Regions from separate parts of the Homo sapiens genome. Here regions 2, 3, 4, 5, 6 and 7 are each linked to region 1. Evidence: promoter capture Hi-C in 16 types of primary human blood cells and fetal thymus (Javierre and others, 2016). All regions are on one chromosome and are shown on one strand. The core of a region is centred on a gene start or on the middle of the fragment in contact, and the rest is flanking DNA. Distances in the headings are between cores, read along the strand shown. Region 1 holds the start of RNF152 (ring finger protein 152). Region 2 overlaps PIGN (phosphatidylinositol glycan anchor biosynthesis class N). Region 3 has its middle 70 kb from the start of LINC01544. Region 4 overlaps PIGN (phosphatidylinositol glycan anchor biosynthesis class N). Region 5 has its middle 50 kb from the start of LINC01544. Region 6 overlaps PIGN (phosphatidylinositol glycan anchor biosynthesis class N). Region 7 has its middle 9.1 kb from the start of LINC01544.

Evidence for each region. Contacts are between HindIII fragments. The CHiCAGO score rates a contact against its expected background, and 5 or more counts as called.
Region 2: a contact is called between a fragment that was not itself captured here and the fragment with the promoter of RNF152 in region 1, in 1 of 17 cell types (M2 macrophages). The highest score is 5.8, in M2 macrophages.
Region 3: a contact is called between a fragment that was not itself captured here and the fragment with the promoter of RNF152 in region 1, in 1 of 17 cell types (M2 macrophages). The highest score is 6.5, in M2 macrophages.
Region 4: a contact is called between a fragment that was not itself captured here and the fragment with the promoter of RNF152 in region 1, in 1 of 17 cell types (M2 macrophages). The highest score is 7.6, in M2 macrophages.
Region 5: a contact is called between a fragment that was not itself captured here and the fragment with the promoter of RNF152 in region 1, in 1 of 17 cell types (M2 macrophages). The highest score is 6.3, in M2 macrophages.
Region 6: a fragment that was not itself captured here is called in contact with the fragment with the promoter of RNF152 in region 1 in 1 of 17 cell types (M2 macrophages); the score reaches 6.8 in M2 macrophages.
Region 7: a fragment that was not itself captured here is called in contact with the fragment with the promoter of RNF152 in region 1 in 1 of 17 cell types (M0 macrophages); the score reaches 5.1 in M0 macrophages.

Annotation. Positions count from the first base shown.
Region 1 is chr18:61,891,643-61,894,374 of GRCh38, reverse strand. It overlaps RNF152 (ring finger protein 152), which reads left to right and starts at 1,368. Exons shown (of 2, transcript NM_173557.3): 1 at 1,368-1,580. RefSeq lists a silencer at 33-182. The HindIII fragment of the contact is 8,244 bases long and covers 1-2,732 here.
Region 2 is chr18:62,112,296-62,115,027 of GRCh38, reverse strand. PIGN (phosphatidylinositol glycan anchor biosynthesis class N) reads left to right here. Exons shown (of 31, transcript NM_176787.5): 15 at 389-467; 16 at 1,712-1,894. Among named protein-coding and RNA genes, the nearest start is that of PIGN, 73 kb to the left of the region's middle. RefSeq lists an enhancer at 222-391. The HindIII fragment of the contact is 4,101 bases long and covers 1-2,732 here.
Region 3 is chr18:61,677,290-61,680,021 of GRCh38, reverse strand. No RefSeq gene overlaps it. Among named protein-coding and RNA genes, the nearest start is that of LINC01544, 70 kb to the left of the region's middle. The HindIII fragment of the contact is 7,786 bases long and covers 1-2,732 here.
Region 4 is chr18:62,095,812-62,098,543 of GRCh38, reverse strand. It overlaps PIGN (phosphatidylinositol glycan anchor biosynthesis class N), which reads left to right. Exons shown (of 31, transcript NM_176787.5): 23 at 2,594-2,696. Among named protein-coding and RNA genes, the nearest start is that of PIGN, 90 kb to the left of the region's middle. RefSeq lists an enhancer at 2,096-2,265. The HindIII fragment of the contact is 4,873 bases long and covers 1-2,732 here.
Region 5 is chr18:61,697,095-61,699,826 of GRCh38, reverse strand. No RefSeq gene overlaps it. Among named protein-coding and RNA genes, the nearest start is that of LINC01544, 50 kb to the left of the region's middle. The HindIII fragment of the contact is 8,587 bases long and covers 1-2,732 here.
Region 6 is chr18:62,073,553-62,076,284 of GRCh38, reverse strand. PIGN (phosphatidylinositol glycan anchor biosynthesis class N) reads left to right here. Exons shown (of 31, transcript NM_176787.5): 29 at 1,464-1,506. Among named protein-coding and RNA genes, the nearest start is that of PIGN, 110 kb to the left of the region's middle. The HindIII fragment of the contact is 1,522 bases long and covers 630-2,151 here.
Region 7 is chr18:61,737,718-61,740,449 of GRCh38, reverse strand. No RefSeq gene overlaps it. Among named protein-coding and RNA genes, the nearest start is that of LINC01544, 9.1 kb to the left of the region's middle. The HindIII fragment of the contact is 4,341 bases long and covers 1-2,732 here.

The sequences.
Region 1 (2,732 bases), core at 119-2,618:
GGGCAGGTGGGGGTGCCGCCCGAAGGGCCGGGCCGGGTGCTGGGGCTGCAGGCGCCGCCGCCGCGCTGTCAGCGTCCGCCCCGTGGCTCTCGGCCGGAGGAGCGGCGGCCGCCGGCCCGGGGCGCGAGTCTGGCTGAAAGGAGCGGGCGCGCCGGGACCACCCGGCGATGCTGTCGCCGCCGCCGCCGCCTCTGTAGCGAGCACCCGAGCCCGCCGCGGAGAAAGGTCAGTGAGTTTCGGTTTGTTTCTCTGCTCTGCCGGCTCCGGATCGGGGGCGGACAGAGGGGTGCGCAGGGATGTCTGCGCCCCTACGGCGGCCGCGCCGAAGCCGTGGAAGCGGGAAAGGGCAGCTGCCGCCTGCTGTAACTGGGGAGATCTTCTGGACCGCGGAGGGGGTGGCGGGGCCGCAGGGTCCCGGGGAGGGGAGCGCGGGGTCTGGCGGGGCACGGGGGAGGTGGTCCCGGGAGTTGCGTGTCTCCTGAGAGCTGGCGGAGTTGGGCGGGCGGCCGCGGCGGGGAGCGGCGCTGTCGGCTGCTCGGCCGAGTCCTCGGATGCCCCCTGGAGCTCCGGTCCGAGGGAGCTTTCCTCGTGCCCGCGCCGCGCGCGCCCCTGGGTGTGCACGTGCGCGCGCGCCCGCCCCAGTTGCGCCCCCGGCCCGCACACACCCCGGCTCATCTTCTCCCGGTCCCCTTGTCTCGCGCCTTCTCCAGCCCTAGAAGTTGCCCCAGGGCCCCTCCCGGGATTAGAGAGCGCTGTGAAGGGCCAGATGTTGGGGGTCTTTTGTGCAGACACACGCGCCTGGGGCGCTTGCTCCTGGAAGGACAGCGGCAGGACAAAGCCAGCTGGACTCGTGGGGCGCTGCTCGGGAAGCGGCGGTCCCCAATCCCGCCTGGGGTCGGGGCATGGCTTGGGGAGCGCTGCCTGGGTCTGGAGAGAGTAGAGAAATCGCCAAAGCAGAGTGACGGTGACTTGATGAGGTGACGGTGACTTGATGAGGTGGCGGTGACTTGATGAGGTGGCGGACAGGGGCAAACGAAAGAAAGATGCTCGGGATTGCCGCGCTGTGTGCCTGTCTGCGCGGCTGACTAGGCGCCCCGCATTCCCATATGACCGGGTTACCTGGTAGATTTTGCCAGTGTGTCTTTGCCCCAAGATGTTATTCCCCACCTGCTCCGATTTCTTTCTTTCCTAGGGCTTACTGTTGCTAGTAGGCGCTCTGCCACCAGAGGGGAACTCGTGGGCGGGGGAGACTGCGGAGGAGGGGGGAGGTGGTTATTTATCCTGTAGAGACAATTAGGAGCCGTGACGCCCCCTTCTCGGCCGCCAGCCCTCCACACCTCATCTGCCTTGCTCCACCTCCCTAGTGCACCCGCTCCAGCCCCGTCTGCCCAGGAGGGCGCTTGGATTTCCTTCTCCGCGGCGCGTATCTAACCCTTCCTGCATGTATTTCACTGCAGGCTGAAGAAAGCTCAGTCTCAATTGTGTTTCCTGCCTGTCAGCCTCTTGCCTCCTAAACGTGTACCATTTCCACTTGATGTCATCACGCAGAAGGGGTGAAAGAGACTCGGTGACAGATACAGGTAACCCCCCACGATCTGGGTAGCGCCTGGGTGTCTCTGGGTCATTTGGGCCGACAGTGCTGGCACAGGGCTGTTTGGGTGGTTTCTGCATCAACATCGTTCCTATCTGTGAGAAGGTGTGGGGGCTGCTAAAACTCCTGGTTCAAAGAAATAAATTGCAAATGACTTTATACCTTCCCTTTGAAGAAGCCATTGGAGGTAGGTGCAGGGTGAATTTGGGATTGTAGAAATCCCACCTGGTTTCCTTTCATGGGAATTTTGATATAATTCATACACAGGCAGTTGTATCTGAATGTTAGGTTTCCATAGATGCCTGCTTTCTTATCTGTAGTAATAGATTTAGGCTTCAGTCTAGAGGTGGGGTATCCTTTGTTGAAAAGGTATCATTGGAAGGCTGATTGTACTTTTGCCCAGTGCTCTAATTGAGCACCGGTCAAATGCAGTGACCTTCGTATGAAATACTGTCTTTCTTCTGTTCCTTCATTGTAATAGTGTTTGCAATATTAAGAGAGACATGCTAGCAGTGAGTACTGGGAGGTGGAAGGGAGGGCTGTTGGGGGCAGCAGAAAGAGAACAGAGAAAACAGCTTGAGTGAAGTTTCCATTTAGATAGCCATGAACCAGTAGACTCTCATTCTGGATTTTATCTTTAGGTTATTGGGGCTTTTCCAAAAACTCTGGCCTGTTCTTTTCTTTCCAAGGATAGTTCTGTTTTGATGTCAGCCTAGCCAGATCTGGGGTTATCTTGATAAGAGTGCAATGAAAAAACGTAACCTTCAGACTTAGCAGGACACTCCGGCATTAGCATTTTCTGCTAGAGGGCAGAGTCCTGCGCATCCTACACTAGTAGCAGGGAATAAGAATGGTTATGGAAATGGGCTTTCGATTTTTCTTGTAGGAAGACAGATTGCTGAGGGCCAAAGGCTCCTGGTCTACTCTCTTTTACATTGCAGTAACACCTTGGTATCTGTGACAGATTCTCTCTTCACCATTTTCCTCCAAATCCCTTGAAAAATGAAGTTAAAAACTTGAAAGATTTATTATTCACCTCCAATGTAGTTTTGTTTTGGAAGGTGACTTTAAAAACATAGGTGACACTAGCATTTATCCTTCTACTACAAGCATTCAGGAGTCACTAGTAAAAGCAGTTGAG
Region 2 (2,732 bases), core at 59-2,558, 220 kb before region 1:
GTCCTCAATCACGTGAAGTCTGCCATGAGCACAGGACAACTGAGTGGCAGAGCTCATGCCATACGTTTGGTGTTCTGCTAATTACTTCAATTTAATCAGAATTTCTTTGTTAGCCAGAGTATTACATTTCTTCAGAATGATGGATTATATGACTTTCATAAGTGTAGTTTGGCATTTGAAACTTCGAGTCAAGAAAACCAAATTTAACTATAAGCTATTTCTTGGAAGACTTCAGAGAACAAACAGCAATTCAGGTTTTTTTCTTTGATTTTTGTTTTGTTTGCTGTTTTGTAATTTTCACTATCTTTGTTTTTTAATTAAGGGGAAAAAAGAAACATATACTTGGAATGAGGAAACCCTTTAAACCTATTCTTTTTTTTATATATAGACTGCTTTCTGATTCCAAACAGTTCAACATTTTAAGAAAAGCAAGATCTTATATAAAACACAGAAAGTTTGATGAAGTGGTAAGTATACCGGCCTTATAGACATAAATAGCTGATTATCATTTTGGGGATGGAGAGGAGAAAAATAGAGCAAAGTAGGCAGGCCAGGGAGCTTTCTTGAGCCCTCAAGGAAGGATTGCATTTCCTGAGTAGCTGCTTTAGCAGTGGACAGATCTCTCTTATTTCAACTAATATTATGGGTAAATTTTTTTTTTTTTTTTTGAGACAGAGTGTCGCTGTTGCCCAGGCTGGAGTGCAGTGGCACAATCTCAGCTCACTGCAACCTCCGCCTCCCAGGTTCAAGCAATCCTCCTGCCTCAGCCTCCTGAGTAGCTGGGATTACAGGCATGCGCCACAACACCCAGCTAGTTTTTGTATTTTTAGTAGAGATGGGGTTTTGCCATGTTGGCCAGGCTGGTCTTGAACTTCTGACATCAGGTGATCCACCCGCCTTGGCTTCCCAAAGTGCTGGGATTACAGGCATGAGCCACCGCACCCGGCCCACATTTTTTTAGGTTAGCATTAGAAATAAACTATTACCATTTTTTAAAATGAGAAAATAGATGCCAAGTTTGTGTCACCCTTCTTAATGTATAATATTTTAGAATACTATATGTTTGCCACTTGGAATTATCTATACATTATTAAAAGTCTAATGATTCATGTTGAAATTTTGACTCTTCCAAACTCCTATCTCACTGTTTTTCATTAATTTTTCTTTGTTAAATGGTCATTTAATTTTAAAGTAGAAAAGAATTCTGTTTTCATTTCTAAAATTGCCTAAATAATTGCCAATCCGTGCATTTCTAATGCTTTTTTTGATGATTTTAAAATGATAAGCTATTCTTCTCCTGTAAAATATTAAGCTACTTAATGATGTTTTATAACTGATTTGAGTAATCTCATATGAGAAAAAATATAAATATGGCCATTATCATTATTTGGGACCTATATTAGAGAGCCTTCATTTCTTTTATGAGTTGTCTGAATATCATTTCCACAAACACACATATACAACACAAATAGTTTACATTTAAAATGCCCTTTCTTATTAAGATTAAAAAGTTCATTTTATTCCAAATTTTTCTCATACTTTAAAAGAAGATCCTGGAACAATTAAAATCTGTTCTTAATCCATCATCTACAGTTATTCACTAATTTTAATACAACAGTTTGGCTGTTAGGAATTTAAAATTTTCCTTTCTTTAAAATGTAGGTTTTCTTATTATTTCTGTTAGCAAGTTATATATGTTTTTTCTCCATAGGTCTCCCTTTGCAAGGAGCTAATTCATCTTGCATTGAAAGGATTGTCCTATTATCACACATATGACAGATTCTTTTTGGGCGTCAATGTTGTTATTGGTTTTGTGGGATGGATATCTTATGCCTCTTTGTTGATCATCAAGTCTCATTCCAACCTTATAAAAGGTGTTAGTAAAGAAGTGAAGGTACGTTTAGAAAATGTGAGGATTCAGATGATGGTATAAAATCACTAGTACTGAATCCAGTGTAATGAGTTTATAGGATGTGCAAGTCATTGTTCTAAGCTAACTCTTGTTTATCTTTCATTTGCTTTTATTGTATTGGATTTTTCCTCAGTTATCTCTGTTTCTTCAGTTGAGAAAAAGATATATTGATAATAATGATCCTATAACTTAAGAAAGCTATAAAGATAGAGGTGTAAGTAATTTAAGTGCTCCTATGTTATCAATGGTGTCGACCTTCTGTTTTATTTTATAACTAGCATTTTATAAGTATTCCATATCTTTCTAGTACAACTGGTCAGAAAACTACTTCAAAACAATATGTTTAATTTTATTTGATATTAAAAGTTTGGGAGCTAGAGAACAATAAAATTATTTGCTCATAATGTTTCTTCTTAAATGATGTATACATTTTTTAATTACTTACCTTCTTTTAACTTTTTGAAGTTTCTCAAAATGCAGATTTCTAGACCTCTCCAAGTATTCTTATTTTAAGAATTTGTTCCTACTTTACTATGCTTTCAGTGAAAAAATAAAAATTAAAAAAATCTCTTTAATGATACTTCATATTGCTGAGACAATATAACAGTATGTATATGGTTTTACTACATTAAAACACTTTACTCTTTTAAAATATATTTCTAACTATCATTTACCAGGGGCACTATGCCACTTTCATTTCCTTTGCTTCATTCTCTTTAATGATTATTACCATGTTCAAGTTCTCTAAAAAGTAATATATCCTGGTGGTGTATTTTTAATAATAGTCTGCAGATATTTCCAGTGGTAACTTTTCCAATTT
Region 3 (2,732 bases), core at 78-2,577, 210 kb after region 1:
TGCATAACTCAAGAGCAATGATGCTCTTGAGTCTGCATCATTGTTGGGTTCAGCCTGGTTGGGTTCAGCCAATGGAAAGTACGAGCAACAGAAGGAGGATGGGAGAGAACCCTTGATGCAATGCTGGCCACTCATCTCCCTTGGCTGCATTGCTTACCAGGCTCAGGTAATGCAGTTCCCTTTACTGTTGGATATAATGAGCTTCCTACTGTTAGTCTCTGGGTGGATCAGCATTGTCAATTCCCTTAACCCTTCAACCTCTGGGAGAAATCTCTTCAAAATCCCAACTGTGGACCTTCAAAATCCTGCTTAATGGATACAATGTCACCAAAAAATATTTATTGAATTTCTTTCATGGACCATGCACAGGGATACAAAGACATGATCCACTTTATGTAATTTGTCATCTAATGAGGGGTTCACGATCCAATTGTAGGATGTATTGCACTGCATTCCCAAGAATCATTCAGGAAGAAATCTTAGGAGGTTGGCATTCGTTGGGTGAATTTAGCCATAGCAGAATTGGCTTCAGCAAGCATCCCCTAGCTTTTGGGTTTACTTTCTATAAGTTAGGCTGGACATACGTACATGTAACTGTTTTTTTTAATTTTAAAATTATTTTATGCATACATAGTAGGTGCATATATTTATGGGGTACATGAGATATTCTGAAGCATACAGTATGTAATAATTACATCAGCTTAAATGGAGTATCCATCACCTCAAGCATTTATCATTTCTTTGTGTTATAAACATTCCAATAAAACTTTTAGTTATTTTTAAATGTGTAATAGATTATTGTTGACTGTAGCCACCCTGTTGTGCTATTACATACCAGATCTTACTCATTCTATCTAACTATATTTTTATACCCCTTAACCATCCCCACTATCCTTCTTAGCCTCTGGTAGTGACTGTTCTACTGTCTATCTCTGTGAGTTCAGTTATGTTAATTTTTAGCTCACACAAATGAGTGAGAACATGCAAAATTTGTCTTTTTGTGCCTGGCTTAGTTCACTTAACATAATGGTCCTTCAGTTCCATTTATGTTGTTGCAAATGACAGGATCTCATTCTTTTTTATGGCTGAATAGTGCTCCATTGCATATATGTACCACATTTTCTTTATTCATTTATCTACTGATGGACACTTAGGTTGATTTCAAATCTTGCCTATTGTGAAAAGTGCTGCAATAAACCTGGTAGTAAAGATATCTCTTCAGTATGTTGACTTCCTTTCTTTTAGGTCATATATTTAACATTCAATATGCCCAGTGCTGAAACAATATGTTATAATTACTCCATACTCTTTCTAATCTGAGGTACAACGTTTATCAAGGAAGGCTGCTTATTTGTTGTGCCTTTGGGTTTTGAAAACTGCCTGATTATGGATATGCAATGGCTTGGCCAATCAGACTAAAGTAAGGTAAGGCTGGCCTGTAGGCATAACTTTGTGTTCTGAAGGAAATCAAAATATTTCACCCTAAAATATACTTCTTTGATGTATTTTGAGATGGCTGTTGAGAGGGCCCACAAACAGAACTAGCCCTGCAAAGCTGTCTATTGTGAGGGAGATTTGTATTTGTAGAGAAAATCTGCATTGATGCAGCCAGGCTTTTTCTGAGACTCTCGCTTGTCCAGATCTAGGAAAGAGTAAGAATCTGATGCCTTGAAAGGTCTGAAAGAAACATTTTCCATCTCTTCTCTGAGGGCTGCTACCTGTAAGGTTTCATCTACATAACAAGACCACCTTTGCTAGCCAAGCCTCCTCTTCTTTCCCTCCCATAACGTGTCTTGTCACCATAACTTGATTTACCACCATACTCTCTTTTTTGGTCATTGACTGAACCCCCATTCTTTCAAGATGATGTAGAAGTGTTAACCACCTGGTCATTTCTTTGAGTTTTTCATTTTTATGTATGACTCACATGCACATGTGTGCATGTAATAAAATTTTTATGCCTTTTCTTCCTGTTAATCTTGTATTAGCAGTTTATTATATAGACTTAAATTATCAAGCCTTCAGAAAAATTTAAACTTCTCTGTAGCTCCATGGTTCCCACAGTGTCCATGTTCCTTCATAAAATGGAATGAGTGTTCTCAGATTGTGCTGGGCTTAAGGCAGTGAGGGAATGAATGTTTTCCCTTTGCCAGAGGAGGTATATGTTAGGATTGTACTTTCTGGCTCCCTGTGGTTCATTCAACCAATCTGGTCGTTGAGCCATGAACAAAAGTGACATGTATCACTTCCAGGCCAGAGCATTTAACTGCTAATGTGAGATACTCCAAAGCTCTTTCCTTCTACCCGGCAAAGTTCAAGGTTGTAGCTCTTCCAGCAGCCTGGGTCTTAGTGAGGAGACACGAGTCCTTAGCTAACTTGCTGACTTGCAGTGAACATGTGTTGTATGTCAGGAATAAACCTCCAGTAGTGAAAGCCTATCCTTTCTTCACTGATATGAAGACACGCACATAATCCACAGGAGACAAGTCATAGGGATTGCTTTTCTCCTTTGTAAAAAGTCTTAAGTCATGTGATTCTAATTGATACCTCAGCAGCAATAGAGTTTCTTTTAAACACTTCATTCTTTGATAATACAAACTTTGTGAAACTGGTTTCGCAAAAATTATAAATGAGGCAATTATTACAGTGAAGGATATCTGACTTAACTGACTCCATCTTGCTTCTAACCTCCAAGCTGTCCTGGTTCATTCCTGGGCATAGGCCAAATTAAC
Region 4 (2,732 bases), core at 233-2,732, 200 kb before region 1:
TATTACCTTATCAATCATTTAGACAAAAGTAAAACAAGGACAGAAAATGTGTACAGTTTTACAGAAGAGGTCTCATTTGAACTGACTTTTATTATTTGCTTTTTATTTTTTTATTTCTTAACAACCACCGTATGTCCAACAGATTAACTGACTTTTAAAATCAGACATATTGAAATGTTATTCCTTCCAGTTAAAATATGTATCAGTTTATTATGATTGGAGCTACACATCTGGAAAAAAAGTCAGAAGCTACTCATCTAAGGGTATTAAAAAATGTAACTTCATAGTCTTAAATCTTGCAGTGACTTGACTTTAGGTGAAATTGACATTACATGTAACTTAATTTAGAAGATGTTGACTAATAATAATAACCACAGTTAACAGTTACTAAGCACTATGTGCTAGGCACTATGCTCAGGGAACATTGTATAGGTGAAATTGTATTTAATCCTCACAACTTTTTAATGTTATCTCTATTTGACAGGTGGGTAAATTTCTGCTTGGATCAGTTAATGAACTTGCCCTATAGTTTAAACAGTTAGTAAGTGATTCAGCCGGGATTTCATCCCAACTTGTCTATCTTCAACCTCTAGAGCACTAGGGGGATTAGAAAGTTATGCACATTTCCTTCCCAGAATAGAGATGGAGGAGTTTATGTTTTGCCACCCCACCCACTTCATCTGCCCTTCCTCCACTTGGGTAGTTGCTTTTATTATCCCGGGGGAGAGTCGATACATCTCTCATGCATGGTGAAGTCATTCCTGTTTCTCTTTTCCAAGGGGCATACTGCAACTGTCAGTGCATACTTTACGGTGGGAAAACTTGGAGAAGGAATGGGTTAGGAAAAAATCAGTTTCTGAGGAGTAAGTTGTCTTTGAACTAAGATATAAATGCCTAATTAAGCAAAGAGTGCTAAATCTTGAGTAATACTTTTATTTCATTAGAAAATAATTCATTTTTGGGTATATACCCAGTAATGGGATGGCTGGGTCAAATGGTATTTCTAGTTCTAGATCCCTGAGGAATCGCCACACTGACTTCCACAATAGTTGAACTAGTTTACAGTCCCACCAACAGTGTAAAAGTGTTCCTATTTCTCCGCATCCTCTCCAGCACCTGTTGTTTCCTGACTTTTTAATGATTGCCATTCTAACTGGTGTGAGATGATATCTCATAGTGGTTTTGATTTGCATTTCTCTGATGGCCAGTGATGATGAGCATTTCTTCATGTGTTTTTTGGCTGCATAAATGTCTTCTTTTGAGAAGTGTCTGTTCATGTCCTTCGCCCACTTTTTGATGGGGTTGTTTGTTTTTTTCTTGTAAATTTGTTTGAGTTCATTGTAGATTCTGGATATTAGCCCTTTGTCAGATGAGTAGGTTGCGAAAATTTTCTCCCATGTTGTAGGTTGCCTGTTCACTCTGATGGTAGTTTCTTTTGCTGTGCAGAAGCTCTTTAGTTTAATTAGATCCCATTTGTCAATTTTGTCTTTTGTTGCCATTGCTTTTGGTGTTTTGGACATGAACATGCTGCTATAAAGACACATGCACACGTATGTTTATTGCGGCACTATTCACAATAGCAAAGACTTGGAACCAACCCAAATGTCCAACAATGATAGACTGGATTAAGAAAATGTGGCACATATACACCATGGAATACTATGCAGCCATAAAATATGATGAGTTCATATCCTTTGTAGGGACATGGATGAAATTGGAAACCATCATTCTCAGTAAACTATCGCAAGAACAAAAAACCAAACACCGCATATTCTCACTCATAGGTGGGAATTGAACAATGAGATCACATGGACACAGGAAGGGGAATATCACACTCTGGGGACTGTGGTGGGGTCGGGGGAGGGGGAAGGGATAGCATTGGGAGATATACCTAATGCTAGATGACACATTAGTGGGTGCAGCGCACCAGCATGGCACATGTATACATATGTAACTAACCTGCACAATGTGCACATGTACCCTAAAACTTAGAGTATAATAAAAAAAAAAAAAAAAAAAAAAAAAAAGAAAATAATTCATTTTTGAGTTAATATTATTATAGTTATCTGGGCTGAATATAAATTGAGAAAATATGGGCGTAGTTAAAAAAATGAAATGTAATGTTAATTAAAAATGTGAGGCTTGACTGTGATTAGGGGAAATGTAGCCTCATGTTCAAGGTCACAAAACAATAAATGCCATAAATGATACTAGATTATTCAGAGCTTCTACAGTAACTTTTTTTTTTAAGATGGAGTTTCACTCTTGTCACCCAGGCTGGAGTGCAGTGGTGCAATCTCGGCTCACTGCAACCTCTGCCTCCCGGGTTCAAGCGATTCTCCTACCTCAGCCTCCTGAGTAGCTGGGATTACAGGCGCCTGCCACCACACCCAGCTAATTTTTGTATTTTTAGTAGAGACGGGGTTTTATCATGTTGGCAAGGCTGGTCTCGAACTCCTGACCTCAGGTGATCTGCCCACCTCGGCCTCCCAAAGTGCTGAGATTACAGGTGTGAGCCACCACGCCCGGCCCTACGCTAACATTTTTTTTGTGTCTCTTATACTGACAGATGACCTGTTCTGTTTCATTGCAGCCTCTTCCTTGGTTGTGCCACTACTGAGTTCTCCAGTTCTCTTTCAGCGATTGTTCAGCATACTTCTTTCATTGATGTCAACCTACCTACTTCTAAGCACAGGGTATAAACTTTTTAACAATTTAATTTTATAGCAGCA
Region 5 (2,732 bases), core at 62-2,561, 190 kb after region 1:
ATCTAGCTACTGCATTTTCTCAACTTTGTTGCAACTTGTCAAAGAGAATATTCATATTAAAGGCATTTGCAAAAAATCTGAAAAAATAAATAAAATAAAATAAAATCTGACCCTTCCTTATCAAACCCTGATTGCCACTGTGCCCAGCATGCTCTCTCCAGTCTCCGTGCTGGGCTTGCTGAGAACAGGAATGCGCATGTCTTGTAATCACTGTCTCCAGCACCTGCCCAGCCCCCAGCACCTGCACAGCCCCCAGCGCGTAACAGGTGCTCCAGTATGAGAATGCTCAAGAAGGGCTCTTGGCTTTCCTCACCATGGAGCACACTCTTCCCATCTGTTCTCTGCTCTCTTGCACCCAGGATGCCTTGCCATCTCTCCCAGACCCATTTAATTCCTACCAACTTCCAATCAAGGTGCCAGAGGGAGCATGTACACTCTCCCCTACCTTCCATTCCACTGGCGTAAGGTGAAATATTGCTTTAAAAAATTTAAATATATGCAACCCATTCCAAAACAGTTTAAGAATGCCCAAAATGCCAAGAGGAAAATCTCTGTGAACCTGAGTGCAGAGGAAACTCACATTGATGAGGGAGGGGGTTGAAGTCACATGACCCAAGGGACTCATGGCCAGACAAGGGGTGGTGGGCCCTGGTCTTCAGCACTGCCTGGGAAGGTCTGCAGGGCCCATGGTGGGACACTGGAATCTCTGTGCAGCCACAGCCCCCAGAGTGAAATAACTCCACTAGAGAGCCCAGAGGTGGGTGGCAGCTGGAAGTAAGCAGCTCTGGGAGGAAACAGAGGCCACCAAGCAAAACAGGAGTGAGATTGGGTGGCACAAATGGAGCACTTCCCATCTAGGGTGAGAGTCTGTGAAGGTTAATTTTATGTGTCAATGTGGCTAGGTCATGATATCCACATATTGTTCAAATGTTATTCTAGATATTTCTGTGAAGGCATTTTTTTAGATGAGATTAACATTTAAATCAGCAGTAGGCCAGGTGTGGTGGCTCATGCCTATAATCCTGGCCAAGGCAGGAGGATCGCTTGAAGCCAGGAGTTGGAGACCAGCCTGTGCAATACAGCAAGACGTTGTTTCTACAAAAAATAAAATAATTAATCAGGTGTTGTGGGATGCACTTGTAATCCTCACTACTCCTATCTACTTGGGAGGCTGAAGTGGGAGAACTGCTTGAGCACAGGAGTTCAAGACCATCTTGGGCAACATAGCAAGAGCGCATCTCCACAAAAAATTTTAAAAATTGCCTGGGCATGGTGACATATGCTTGTAGTCCCAGCTAGCTAGGAGGCTGTGGTGGGAAGATCACTAGAGTCCAGGAATTCAAGGTTACAGTGAGGTATGATTTTGCCACTGCACTTCAACCTGGGCAACAGAATGAAACTCTATCTCTAAAAAACAAATCAGTAGACTTTGAGTATAGCAGATTATGCTTCTATTATATAAGTTCTGCCTATAGATGGTTTTTGGACTCGAACTACAATTCATCCCTAGGTCTCCAAACTGCTGGCTTACCCCACAGATTTTGGGTTTACCAACCCTCCACAATCACACGTTCCTTAAAATCTCTCTTTCTCTCTCTATATATCTCCTGTTGGTTCTGTTCTCTGGAGATCCATGACTATTACAGAGTCCTAAACCACTTAATATAGGAAATTGCCAATGTTTTAGACCAAGGATGTTAAGATGGAAGGAGTTCAGCACCAAATGCTGAGCAGGATGAACTCAACAACCACCATGAAACCTCACATCTATGTATAATTGTTCATTTATCAGGAGCTATTGATTTAGTGATTTATTGCCAGGTCCTGTTCTAGGTACTGTGTATTCAGTGGGGGAACACACACACATATATAATATGCATCTAGAATATAATATATGTGTTTTTTATATATATACTTATATATATATAACTTTAAATTCATGTATAGGTAAGTATTATGAAGGAAAAATAAACTAGAGTAAAAGGAGGTATTTTAGATCAAATGGGCAAGGAAAGTCTTTCTGAAGAGGTGGCATTTAAGCCAAGACTGAATGAAGTGGGGAACAAGTCAAGTGAAATGGCCAAACATGGAGAACAAAAGGGGAAGTCTTACAAGCAAGCAGTAAGAAAAGACTTGTCCCTCACAAAAGAATGGCCAGCAGATTGGCAGCTGCCTCTTCAGCACTGAGGGTAAATGCTAGAATAATTCCTTCCCCAAGTATTGTTCAGGAGTGAGAGTGAAACAGACATAGCCAGACACCAGGGCTAGGAGGGTTTGCTATCAGAGTGCCTTCCTGAAAGAACTGCTAAACTTTACGTATTTCCTGCAGGAGAAAATGAATCCAAAAGGTGTGGAACAGAAAAACAATGGTGAACAAAGAAATCATTGAAACGTGTCCAAAATCAAGCTATATTTTCCCTGTATTTTCAAACTTTTGTGCATAATATACTAGATAAACATCTGGAAGATGGGAAATAGGGGAAATGTGGGAAAATGTCAGTGTTTAAGGTCTTTGTCTTGATGAGGAGGAGGTTAGAGATTCTGAGCCTATTTAGAGATTCTGAGTCAATTTACAACAATACATAGCTTCTCCTCATTCTGCACAGTCTAGATTGGGTTGGATTGAGCCGCTTTCATGAGTTGTTTCTAATTACCCAGTCCTCTTTCATTTACCTCCAGAACTCCTCTAGCATTTATAGCCTGTCTGTACAATTTAGCACTTAGCTACACAG
Region 6 (2,732 bases), core at 141-2,640, 180 kb before region 1:
AAAGTTGTTCAGCATTATTAGCCATTAAAGGAATGCATGTAAAACCACAATGGGTTGGGCGTGGTGGCTCATGCCTGTAATCCCAGCACTTTGGGAGGCCGAGGCGGGCGGATACGAGGTCAGGAGTACAAGACTAGCCTGACCAACATGGTGTAACCCCGTCTCTACTAAAAATACAAAAATTATCCGGGCGTTGTGGCGGGTGCCTGTAGTCCCAGCTACTTGGGAGACTGAGGCAGGAGAATCGCTTGAACCCAGGAGGCGGAGGTTGCAGTGAGCCAAGATTGTACCACTGCACTCCAGCCTGGGCGACGGAGCGAGACTCCATCTCAAAAAAGAAAAAAAAAATCAACAATGAAATATCATTACACACTTACCAGAACAGTTTATCAGAATAGTTAAAAACAAATAGTGGCATCACCAAATGCTGTTGAGGATGTAAGGAAATTGCTCTCATGCATTGCTAGTGGAAATGTAACATGGTACAACCACTCTGAAAAGAGTTTTACAGTTTCTTATGAAACTAAACATGCTACTGTTGTATGACCTAGCAATTGCACTCTTGATGTATTTTCCTAGAGAAATGAAAGGTTTACACAAAAAATTAGACACAAATGTTTATAAAAGCTTTATTTGTAAGAGCCACAAACTGGAACAATAGCCACAAGTAGAAACAACCCTTGATGTCCTTTGGTGCTTGAATGGTTAAGTAAACCATTGTATATCCATATGATGGAGTACTATTCAGCCATAAAAGTAAATGACCCATTGATACAGCACCTTGGATGATTCTTGAGAAAATTATGCTAAGTGAGAAAAGCCAATCCCAGAAGGTTACAAAAGGTAACAAAGTGTTATATAAATTGTTCAACTTGTTATGTATGTGATTCTACTCATAAAACACTCTTAAAATGACAAAATTATAGAAATGGGGGACAGATTAGTGGCTCTCAGGGGTGAGGGATTAGGCAGAGGGATGGTGAGGGGAGGACAGATGTGGCTATAAAATGGCATCATGAGAGATCTTTGTGCTGATGGGAACACTCTTTACCTTGACAGTATCAGTGTCATTGTCCTGCTTGGGATATTATACTATGGTTTTACAAGATCTTCCCACTGGGGGAAACTGGGTAAAGGGTACAGAGGATCCCTCTGTATTATTTCTTGAAATTGCATATTAGTTAACAATTACCTCAAAAGTTTAGTTTTGAAAATCATAATGTATGTCCCTTTCATTTTACTGAAATAAATATTCAGAGCACTTAATAACACATTTTACAGTCCAGCTCATCTCTATGGTATGGTCACCCATGATAATATGAAAAGAACCTTTGAAAGTTGTATTTTCAGAAGCAAAAATACCAACAATACTAGGTTATTTGCCTAGTCTCACTTGGATTTTAATGAGCTTGAAAAATGCACCTGTTGTATTAGATGTAATTTTTCCTTCTTTTTTTTTCCAGCCTTTTTCTCATTGTTCTCGTCATATCAGACATTATGGCTTTGGTAAGGCATTACTGGGTAGTCCATATAAATTAGATTAAGAGTCCTGGGTTAATTTAATAAAGAGAAATATGAATGCATTTTGGTACGTGAAATCTTTAGATGTTGAGTTGTAAGTGCTGGCATAATTTACACAATAAATTATGTTCTTTTATATTAGTTATGCAGGATGTGTGCTCTTCTTCAGGTGTCAAAAGTCTTACTACTTGAATTTGTCATACCTCGTCTTCCATGTTGCTTTGTATCTGAAATGAACCTTCCAAAGAAAATTAGCAGAAAAAGCTAACTTTAAATTTAGATAATACATCATTTTTCTACTGAAATGTTGATTTTTAACCCTTCTCTCAGATTAAAAATGAAAGGAAAAGAGGGAGGGAAGGAAGGAAGGAAACAGGAAATACAGCTTTTCTGTTGGGAAGATGTTAATCAAGACGTAGCTGCAATAAATGAGTTCTGATGTATGTAGGTAGGCCTCTCTCATTAACAAAAAGAGGAACCTATTTTATGTCTACAACTTTGGGGAGTTCCCAAGACCACCCTCAGCTTTAGTAATTCACTAGAATTCACTGAAATCACTGAATGCTGTTATATTCAGTTACAGTTTATTCCAGTGCATAGGGCAGAGTCCAGGACACCAAATGCCAAGCTTCTGTTTCTCCCTGTGGAATCAGGACAGCATTACCCTCCCACTATTGATGTGTGACAGTACACATGGAGTATTGCCAACCAGGCTTACCTAAGCTTTGTTGTCCAGACTTTTTAGTGGGGCTTGATCACATACTGCCTACCTGGCTGACCTTTAATCCCTTCTGGGGATACAGCTGGTAATATGGCCCAAAGCCCTCATCATATATCACATTATTAGACTGTCCAGTGGCCAAGCCCTCAGGCAGAACCTTCTATGAGGCATGACATTCCATGACATTCCAAGGGCCCAGAAATTGCCTCCCAGTAGCTGAGAATGAACACCAGCGGTCTTTTTGGGTAAGGTTAATTTGTCACCATATAACATCCCATGCCAGAAGTAACTAGGAATACTAATAAGGGTAGCTTCCCAAATCAGATTCCTAGTCACTCGGTTTAGATGAGAGTACTTTTGTGTGGTGGTGAACCATTATTCATTGTATTTCTGAAACTGACCACACATAATGTGAGAGCAAATCAGCTTTCAGTTTTGTGCAAAGTGACAAACAGACATATTAATAGAAGAGGATTGAAATTCTGATTAA
Region 7 (2,732 bases), core at 88-2,587, 150 kb after region 1:
TGTCATTTGACCAATTAACTGAACCCTGCTGCTAGCTCCTTGTCACATCTGCTTGGAATGAAAGGACAGAGAGCTAGGATAAACCAGGTGGTCCTATGTTTGCTGAGCTTGCAAACCAGGTGGTCTGATGTTTTCGTTGCTGCTGGCTGATAGGTCTCTCTATGTGTCAGAGTTTGGTCTGAGTCTTGATCTCATTACAGCAGACCACCTGGCTGAGAGGTGGTGGGGAGGAGACTGTGGCCTTCACCCCTCTAACCACTGATGGCTGCCAGAAGGCTAAGAACCTAATACTGTAATCTTGAATGACCTACAGTGAAGGTCAACTTGAAGGAATATATTTGGAGGGCAGTGATAGCAATGAATATGGAAAAGCAAGAATGTATGCGAGGGATACAAACAAGACCACAATCAGCAGGATTTGGGGGCTGATTCAATATGGCAGCAACCAAGACGGTATGTCAAAAACAAGACATACGTGTGTATGTGTGAAGAGATAAATAAGCATACAAAGTATTTCACATAGTTTATTTGATTCTCACAACAGTGCAGAGGTGTGGATCGGGCAGTTATTAGAAACAGAGGTGTGGCCAGGCGCGGTGGCTCATGCCTGTAATCCCAGGACTTTGGGAGGCTGAGGCGGGCGGATCACAAGGTCAGGAGATCAAGACCATCCTGGCTAACACGGTGAAACCCCGTCTCTACTAAAAATACACAAAAAATTAGCCGGGCGTGGTGGCAGGCGCCTGTGGTCCCAGCTACACGGGAGGCTGAGGCAGGAGAATGGCGTGAACCCGGGAGGTGGAGCTTGCAGTGAGCCAAGGTCGCACTACTGCACTCCAGCCTGGGGGACAGTGCAAGACTCCGTCTCGAACAAACAAACAAAACAAACAAACAAACAAAAAACAGAGGTGCAGTGCTATATAAACATGTCAGGGATGTGCTCAAAGTCACACGGCCGAGAACTGGAGAACTGGCAGTGTTGGGATCCAGACTCAGATTTTCAGACCCCAAGTCGGTTTCTCTTTCCATTATGTCTCATAGAGAAAAAGATTATTTTTGTTTGTTTGTTTGTTTGTTTTCATTATTGCTAGTATTATTTTTAGAGACAAGCCTGGCTCTGTCACCCAGGCTGGTGTGAAGTGGCATGATCATAGCCCACTGCACCATCGATCTCCTGGGCTCCAGCAATCTTCCCATCTCGGCCTCTCAAAGTGTTGGGATTACAGACATGAGCCACTGTGCCTGGCCACAAAGATTCTAAGGCTGGGTGACTGGGAGAAATAGAGAGGCTGAGAAGGAAGCAAAGAGGGCTGAGGCCAAGGTACTGAGGAGCAGTGGATGGAGGCAGATAGTGAAAGACTGGTGGGAGCGCCCTCAGATGGAGGAGGAATGAGCCCCTGAAGGAGTCCTTTCCCCCACGTGTGTGGATGACATCCACTCTTCACATGAGAGAGGCACAGCCTCTCTGTTCAGCAAGAGTCAGGCTCGCCAGGCTGTTGCCTAAATCTAAGGACAATTCTGCATAGGAATCCAAGGTGCCCCTACAGCTCACTCTCCAGATGGCAGATTTCCTTGGGCCCTTCCTTCTGTTTGGGGCATCCTGTTTCACCCTCAGACTGCCTCCATTCACAAACAAAAAGAGCCTCTTGCCCTAAACTTAGCTTGGGGAAAAGGATTTTTTCATGCATCAAGGGAAAAGAGGAAACCAAAGCCATAGAACATATTTCCGTTGGCTGTGTCCCTGCTGACATGTGGTGATTCATCAGAGTGTGACACAACAGACCCTTTATGGTGATTAGCACTGGCTTGTTGAGCAAAGTCTCCTATCTCAGTATCCTTTTGCTGTTTCGAAAAACAAGTAAATAAATAGGATAAATAGCACATTCTCTATGGATGTCCACAACACCATAGAATGAGAGCGAACACAAAACACCCTATGTTGGCTTTTTTATTTGTCATCACTTTTTAATTTAGACCAGTGGTTTCCATTGCTCCTGGGGAGCCTTTTAAAAATACAGATTCCTAGGTCTGGCCTCTGCTGGTTCTGATTTTGTAAATATAAAAAAGAGCCTGTTTTCCTCCAGAGAGTCGGCAATGTTTATGCTGAAAGAACCTTTGCTCCTTTGTTCTAGGACAGGCTACAGGCTTGAGTGAAGAGAGAACTTTCCTTATGCTCTTTGCCAATGTCCATGTGGTCTCATTTGATTGGAGCCACTCATCAGATTAGTGATCTTGTGCCTCCAGGCCTGGGCTAGCTCTGTTCTCCATGGGTGCTTTCCCAACTTTTCCATCTGGCCTCAACCTTCTGTTCCTAAATTGGCCTTGACAGATTTAGAAGGTGCCTTGGAGACATATCTGTGCCCAATGAACAACTTAACTTGGCATGGGTCTCTGGGCATGAGGGCTGATGGGCCAGAGGATAGTCTGGGTTTCTGAAAGTAGTGCATGACAGAGAAACTGACCAGGGAAAGAGATTTTTGGGAAACACATTTCTGAGGTTGTCTGGGAGGTGCAGACAAAATCTGGTAAGTTTTGAGGCGTAAAAAGCAGCCTGGAACAAAGGGTTGGAGAGGTTGCAAACTTTATTCCCATTTCTGTATTTTAATTCTTCTTGCTTAGCTTCCAGGTGAACTGGATATATCCCTGGGCAGGCAGTGTACATCTTCTTAGAGCCTTACACCTCAGTGTGAATGAGTATATTAGATTCTCTCCTGAAATTGGGAAAGAAAGAG